Regions from separate parts of the Homo sapiens genome. Here region 1 is linked to region 2. Evidence: promoter capture Hi-C in human tissues and cell types (Jung and others, 2019). All regions are on one chromosome and are shown on one strand. Each heading gives the region's core, a stretch centred on a gene start or on the middle of the fragment in contact. The rest is flanking DNA. Distances are from core to core; before and after follow the strand shown. Region 1 has its middle 170 kb from the start of ECI2-DT. Region 2 holds the start of PPP1R3G (protein phosphatase 1 regulatory subunit 3G).

Region 1 (3,592 bases), core at 771-3,270, 780 kb before region 2:
CATTCCATTACACTACTACTTTTGAAATATTTTCTTTTTCCCCTCATTTCCCTCCTATCCTGTCTCCCTCATCTCTTTGCTTTATGTTTAGATTCCCTTGATTAGAAATGGCAAAATCAGGAAGTGAAAGATCTGACACATGTAGAAGTAAATGGGAACCAGGCCCTCAGGGCCACCCAATAGTTGACCTCAAAGCTTGGCCTGGTTGATGTCCACATGCCATGTCATCGGGAGCCCCCTCTTTTTGGCTTCTGGGGATTTTTATCAGAAAGGGAGGAGCCATCCCAAGGCAGCTTTTACCTGTCACAGATAGCATCAAACCCTGACTCCAAAAACTTGAGGAAAATCAAAAGCATGTGGTCACCAGGAAAAAAAAATGAGGATCTCATCTTTAATCACAATAAAGCTAGAATTCCCAGATGGTACATTTTTGGATCTTTGCATCCATCTGCTAGTTCAAGTACTTCAACAGCAATTGCCCTCATGGTGATTTCACAAATTCCTCACATCCTTCATTCATTTGACAAATATTCATTGAGCATCTACTTGGCGCCATGAACTAGAGATCAGTGTGAGCAGATGACATGAACTCTGCCTTGCAAATGCCACTTGCATCAAGCCCCACAAACAGAGGGACTCTGGCACTGTGGTCTGAGAGGTCAGAAGGAGTCTTTCTGAGGAGATGACAGTGAGCTGAGATTGGAAGACCAGTAGGAGAGAACTAGATGAACTAAATGAAAAGATGCTCCACCTACAGAGTTGGGTGCCAGCTACTGAAAGATAGCCTTCATGGGGGAAATAGCAAATCATGTCTCCCTTTGGCCCAAGTCATGACTTGTCTGCCTGTCTGCCTCACATGAGGTGGGGGGACTGCAGGATGTTTTTGGAAATGTTTTCTGAACACTGATCCCCGATATATACTCTAATTCCATACTTGTTATTGAATTTTGCAATAGGAAATTTAAACCACATGCTGTTTATTTAAAAATTTCGATTAAATTTTCCTTTGACTTGCACTTCCAAATAATAAATCAAATGTTGCTTAGTTTAATTTTCAAGTTGATGAAGATTCTTTTCCTGTTGCTAATTCAAGTCACTTAAGGTGAATTTTGATTAATTTGTGATAGGAAGTTTTGTCTTTCTTAATTGAAAACGCTTTTGAACCAATAGCATATTGCACTAAATTACTCAGGAAATGGCAGTGCTAGGGCTAAGAAAATCTTTATTTTTTTATTTTTATAAAAAAATGATCACAGATTTCAAAGGATTAATTTCTCCACTCTTACTGAAAAGAGCTATTGAACTCTCAGTTGACTACAAGTGATTTATCTCTGCTAATTAAAAATAAAAATCTTCCTGACTTCTTGGTGTCAATGTGTGCAATTCCAATGATGATCATGCTCTATATTTATACAGGGGCTAATATATCACTTGCACATATTTTTATCTTTTTAAGCTTCCCAGCATCACTTAACTGATGGTTGATGGGGAGGGGATGATCTGGAAGGATGATAAATTAAGACTGTCTCTCATTTTAAACCATAAAATAGGTATGTAATGAATCAGAGCTGAAACACAATCATCCTGAAAGAAAAGATTGCTGGGTTGAATGTTAGTTCTGCTTTTAGCTCTTTGAGGAATTGTAACACTGCTTTCCATAATGGTTGCACTAATTTACACTTCTGCCAACAGTGTGTAAGTGTTCCCTTTTCTCTGCAACCTTGCCAGTGTCTGTTGTTTGTTTGTTTTCCACTTTTTAATAGTAGCCATTCTGACTGGTGTAAGATGGTATCTCACTGTAGTTTTGATTTGCATTTCTCTAATGATCAGCGATATTGAGCTTTTTTTTCCAGAGGAATATAAATCACTCTACTATAAGATACATGCACATGAATGTTCATTGCAACACCATTTACAATAACAAAGACAGGGTATCAACCTAAATGCCTATCAGTGATGGAATGGATAAAGAAAATGTGGTAATATAAACCATGGACAACTATGCAGCCATAAAAAGAACAAGATCATGTATTTTTCAGGAACATGGATGGATCTGGAGGCCATCATCCTTAGCAAACTAATTCAGGAGCAGAAAATCAAATACCACATGTTCTCACTTATAAATGGGAGCTAAATGATGAGAACTCATGAACACAAAGAAGGGAACAGTAGACATGGGGTCTATTTTAGGAGGAGGGAGAGGAACAGAAACGATAACTATTGGGTACTAGGCTTAATACCTGGGTGATAAAATAATCTGTACAACAAACCCCCATGACACAAGTTTCCTATGCAGCAAACCTGCACATGTAGCCCTAAACCTAAAATAAAAGTTTTTTAAAAAAGAAAGTAAAGATTGAGCTTAAGGTGTTAACTTAAGAAAGAATGTCTGTGCCAATCAGGAGAAGAATGAAATCTAGAGTCCTCACTAATGCCTGCATTTTCACTCCTGCGTGACCTGGCTCCCACCTACTCCTCCAGTTTATTTTCTGCTACTCTTTTTCTCATGTGCTTGCCCCCAGCTGCACAGACCTACTTGCTGTTCCTGCAACACGCACAAGGCTTGCTCTTGCCTCTGTGTCTTTGCACGTGCTGTTCCTTCTGCCTGAAGGCTCTTCCCTTGATATTCTCATCATAGCTCACTCACTGGCTTCCTTTAGCTCTGCTCAAATGCACTTCTTTAGAGAGACCTTCTGGACCAGCTCAAAAAGCATTCCCATCACTCGTTATTGCCTTCCATGTATCATTTGTTTTCATAACACTTATCATCAACTGATGAATTGTATACATATACAATTATATATATGTTACATATAATTTACTGTATGTTTTAGATCAGTTTTGGGTTCACAGCAAAATTAAGAGGAAGACACAGAGATTTCCCATATGCCCCTTCCCTGACACATGCACAGCCTCCTCCATATCAACATCCTCCACCAGAGTGGCACATTTGTTACCATTGATGACCCTACATTGGCATACCCTCATCACACAAAGTTTATAGCTTATCTTAGGGTTCATTCTTGGTGTTCATTCTGTGGGTTTGGATAAATATATGATGACAAGTATCCACCATTTTAGTATCATACAGAGTGTTTTCACTGCCCTAAAAGCCCTCTGTGCTCTACCTGTGCATCCCTTCTTCCTCCAACCCTTGGCAACCACTTATCTTTTTACTGTCTCTATAGTTTTGCCTTTTTGAGTGTCATGAAGTTGAATTCATCAGTTATGCAGCCTTTTCAGATTGGCTTCATTCACTTAGCAGTATACATTTAAGTTTCCTCAATGTCTTCACAGCTTGATGAGCCATTACTTTGTAGTGCTGAATAATATTCCATTGTCTCGATGTACCAGAGTTTATTTGTCCATTCACCTACTGAAGGACATCTTGGTTGCTTCACAAGTTTTGGAGCATAAAGGTATTTTTCTCTTTATTTATTATTTGATCTCTCTTTTTCCATCCCTCCAACATAGTGACTATGCCTATTTGTATACTCTTATATCCCAATGACTAGTATACTGATTGTACATAATATGTGCTCAAAAATATTTTATTGAATAAAGAATTGAGGAAGGAAAGTAAAAAATACAG
Region 2 (3,591 bases), core at 344-2,843:
GGCTAAAACCCTGGCCCCTTTCAGTTCTGCCAAACCATGACATGTTTTAGTTATGAAGCCCCAATTAATTACGTTTCTTAATTAGTGGTTCTGTTTCTAGAATCCCCAACTTTCTATATAAGTAACTGAATACACATCCACATAGGTTTAAATACGGTCCCCAGAGCCCAGCATCAGCATCCCCTTGTTAGAAATACTTCCAGGCCCCAGCCCAAGCCCACTGAGTCACAAACGCTAGGGAGCTGGGAGCAGTGGGGGGCGCCTGTAATCCCAGCTACCTTAGAGGCTGAGGCGGGAGGACTGCTTGAGGCCGGGAATTTGAGACCAACCTGGGCAGCATAGCAAGACCCCTATCTCGAAAAAGTTAGAAAGAAGGAAACTCTGGGAGTGGGGCCCTGTGATGTGACAACGGGCCCCCGAGTGATGTCCGTGCATGCTGAAGTAGAATCACTGACTTAGATGGCCCTCAGGGTGGCCTTAAAACCAAAACAAGAAAAACACCACTTTTAGACGTTCCCCCAATCCCTAGGTACCACGACGCGCTTCCCCACCCCTCCCCGGCCTCAGGTTCGGGCCTTGGCCCCTGGCAAGGCCGGAGCAGCAGGGCGGTGACAGCGCAGTCCGGCGCGGGCCACGCCCCCACTCCCGGTGGGCGGGGAGGGTGCTTGGGGCGCTGGCGTCCGGTTGCGGTGGGAGGTGGTGCGTGCCGCGTGGGCGCCGGCCCCACGGGGCCCCCTCTCCGCCCTCCCTGCGGGATCCCGGGGCGCGGACTCGCGGGCGCGTCGGGCGGGACAGGGGGAGGGGCGGGACGTGCTCCCGGGCCTGGCGCGAATGGCCTCCGGCCGCTCTCGGCTGCGGGCCATGGCCGCTCCCCGGCGCGTCCCCACACGGTCCCCGCCCCAGTCTGGCCGCAGCCCACCCCGCGCCGCCACTGGGCAGATGGGGGCGGCGGCTCCTGCCTCCCGGCTTTCGGAAGAGCAGAGCGGAGCGCGCCTGACCGAGTCAGGCTTCCGAGTGGGATTGGAACCCGGGGCGCCCTGAAGTTTGGGGAAAGCAGGAGCAGAAGGGAAGGGATGCGCTCCCCGCTCTCCGGCGGCGCGGAATGGGCCTCCTTCCAGCCTCTGCGTAGGCAAGATTTCCCCAGTTGCGCGCTGCACCGGGGACTCCCCAGCCCGTGAGGCAGCCAAGAGGAGAGCGCTCAGTGACCCTCTGGGGGCAGAGCCGTCAGGCCAAGTTCATGGGCAGGAAGACTTTGTGCACGTGGGGGTCTCTGAAGGTTGAGCGCGAGCTCTGCACCCCCACTTCGAGGCACTCAAGAAGCGGAACAGACGCGAGCCCCGCCGGGGGTGCGGGTGAGGGCTGCAGGGAGCCCGCGAACGACAGAAAGTCGCCCCCCGCATTCCACCGGAGCACTCGGGAACACGGCTTCCAGGTGTCCCAGCGGCCGCGCCTCCCCGCCCCCGGCCCTCCCCCGTCGCGGGCAGGTTCAACCGGGAGGCGGCGTGGCCCCGGAGCCGGCCCCAGGCCCGCATCCTCCTCCCACTTCGCCCTGGGCAGCCGCAGCTAAAAGCCGGAGGCTCCAAAGTGGAACTACGTTGTCTTGTCGAGCCTGGGGCGACTCGCCTCGGGGAGGGCGAGCCTGAACTGCAGCCCTGCGCTCCTTCCACGGCCCGAGGAGTTAGTTAAGTCTCCAGAGGGGCCCGGTTCGGCCCGAGCAAGTCCAGGGGCGAACGGCGTCATGGAGCCCATAGGGGCGCGGCTAAGTTTGGAGGCGCCGGGACCAGCGCCCTTCCGAGAGGCCCCGCCGGCCGAGGAGCTGCCCGCCCCGGTGGTCCCCTGTGTGCAGGGTGGCGGCGACGGCGGTGGCGCTTCGGAGACCCCGAGTCCTGACGCTCAGCTAGGGGATAGGCCCCTGTCCCCGAAGGAAGAGGCCGCCCCCCAGGAGCAGGAGGAGCTGCTGGAATGCCGCCGCCGCTGCCGCGCGCGCTCCTTTTCCTTGCCCGCCGACCCCATCTTGCAGGCGGCCAAGTTCCTGCAGCAGCAGCAGCAACAGGCGGTGGCACTGGGCGGCGAGGGGGCGGAGGACGCACAGCTCGGCCCGGGCGGCTGCTGCGCCAAGTGCAAGAAGCGGGTGCAGTTCGCGGACACGCTGGGGCTAAGCCTGGCCAGCGTGAAGCACTTCAGCGAGGCGGAGGAGCCGCAGGTGCCGCCCGCCGTGCTCTCGCGCCTCCGAAGCTTCCCTATGCGTGCCGAGGACCTGGAGCAGCTCGGGGGGCTGCTGGCCGCGGCGGCAGTGGCCGCGCCCCTTTCAGCGCCGCCTTCCCGGCTCCGGCCGCTCTTCCAGCTCCCGGGGCCGAGCGCCGCGGCCGAGCGTCTGCAGCGGCAGCGCGTGTGCCTGGAGCGCGTGCAGTGCTCGACGGCCTCGGGCGCTGAGGTGAAGGGCTCCGGCCGGGTGCTCAGCTGCCCTGGGCCCAGGGCCGTGACCGTGCGCTACACCTTTACCGAGTGGCGCTCCTTCCTGGACGTGCCGGCTGAGCTGCAGCCCGAGCCGCTGGAGCCACAGCAGCCAGAGGCACCGTCTGGGGCCTCCGAGCCAGGGTCCGGGGATGCCAAGAAAGAGCCAGGCGCCGAGTGCTTCCACTTCTCGCTGTGCCTGCCCCCGGGCCTGCAGCCTGAGGACGAAGAGGACGCCGACGAGCGCGGCGTCGCGGTCCACTTCGCTGTCTGCTACCGCTGCGCGCAGGGCGAGTACTGGGACAACAACGCGGGCGCCAACTACACGCTGCGCTACGCGCGCCCTGCGGACGCGCTCTGAGCCTGGAGAGTTTCGAAGAGCCGTGGGGCGGGGTTGATTAGCACGTGGAGCTCGGGCTGCCGCCTCAAGGAACTTGCTGGGACGCTTTGCTGAGCGTGGCGAGTCTGGCGTGAGGGGCGCGTGGAGGGAAAGGAGGGAGACTTTGAACCGTCGACTCGCACCCCCGCAGACAAGTGAGCGAGCTTAGAGAGCCCGGGCAATGCTCCGAAAGCCTCTGACCTCAGTCTTCTCGTCCGTTTGACCTTCCTACAAGGCCTCTAGAATTCCCAGCCTGCGTCAGAATAGGAAGAAACTTCCAAGGCCCGGAGCAGCTGCCTCCAAGAAAAAGGCTCCCAACTCCCGGGCATGGTTCTAAGGCCTTGGGATTGGTTTTTAACTCTAAATATCATATTGTAGCCCTTGCAGTTTGCTGGAGACCCCTAGGGAAAGAACAAAGCGTCCTGCCACGGTGCACCAGAGGAAGGTGCCACGGACTGTGGGTGCACGCGTGGGACCTTTACACCCCAACCTATTTCTCAGAGAAAACCCTTCGGGGCTGGGCCAGGCCACCCTTTTCTTTTGACTGAGATGTGGGTAATGTGTGCCCAGACTTGACGTTGTTTATTGTGCGACATTGTGTACAAATGTCCTTTATAAAAGTAAAGGCCACTCGCACCCCCTTTTACGCTGTACTCTGAATTTTGGCTTTCGTGAGTTTGGGGAGGCATTGGCAGTCGGCCGATCTTTGTCAGCTGATGATGTGCGCACTTTAACAATCCTTAAACAACAGCCTACAA

What was found. The method cuts DNA at HindIII sites, captures the fragments that hold promoters and counts their contacts. A contact is called where the count stands out against the background at its distance.
Region 1: a fragment that was not itself captured here is called in contact with the fragment with the promoter of PPP1R3G in region 2 in 1 of the 25 tissues and cell types used here (mesenchymal stem cells).

What each region holds. Positions count from the first base shown.
Region 1 is chr6:4,303,667-4,307,258 of GRCh38, forward strand. No RefSeq gene overlaps it. Among named protein-coding and RNA genes, the nearest start is that of ECI2-DT, 170 kb to the left of the region's middle. The HindIII fragment of the contact is 7,086 bases long and covers 1-3,592 here.
Region 2 is chr6:5,083,748-5,087,338 of GRCh38, forward strand. It overlaps PPP1R3G (protein phosphatase 1 regulatory subunit 3G), which reads left to right and starts at 1,594. Exons shown (of 1, transcript NM_001145115.3): 1 at 1,594-3,591. The coding sequence starts at 1,739. The coding sequence ends at 2,815. The region is part of intron 3 of LYRM4-AS1 (LYRM4 antisense RNA 1); the gene reads left to right. It also overlaps a transcript of LYRM4 not described here. RefSeq lists silencers at 576-645, 676-955, 1,366-1,545, 1,796-1,895, 2,036-2,085 and 1 more and an enhancer at 1,876-2,565. The HindIII fragment of the contact is 9,723 bases long and covers 1-3,591 here.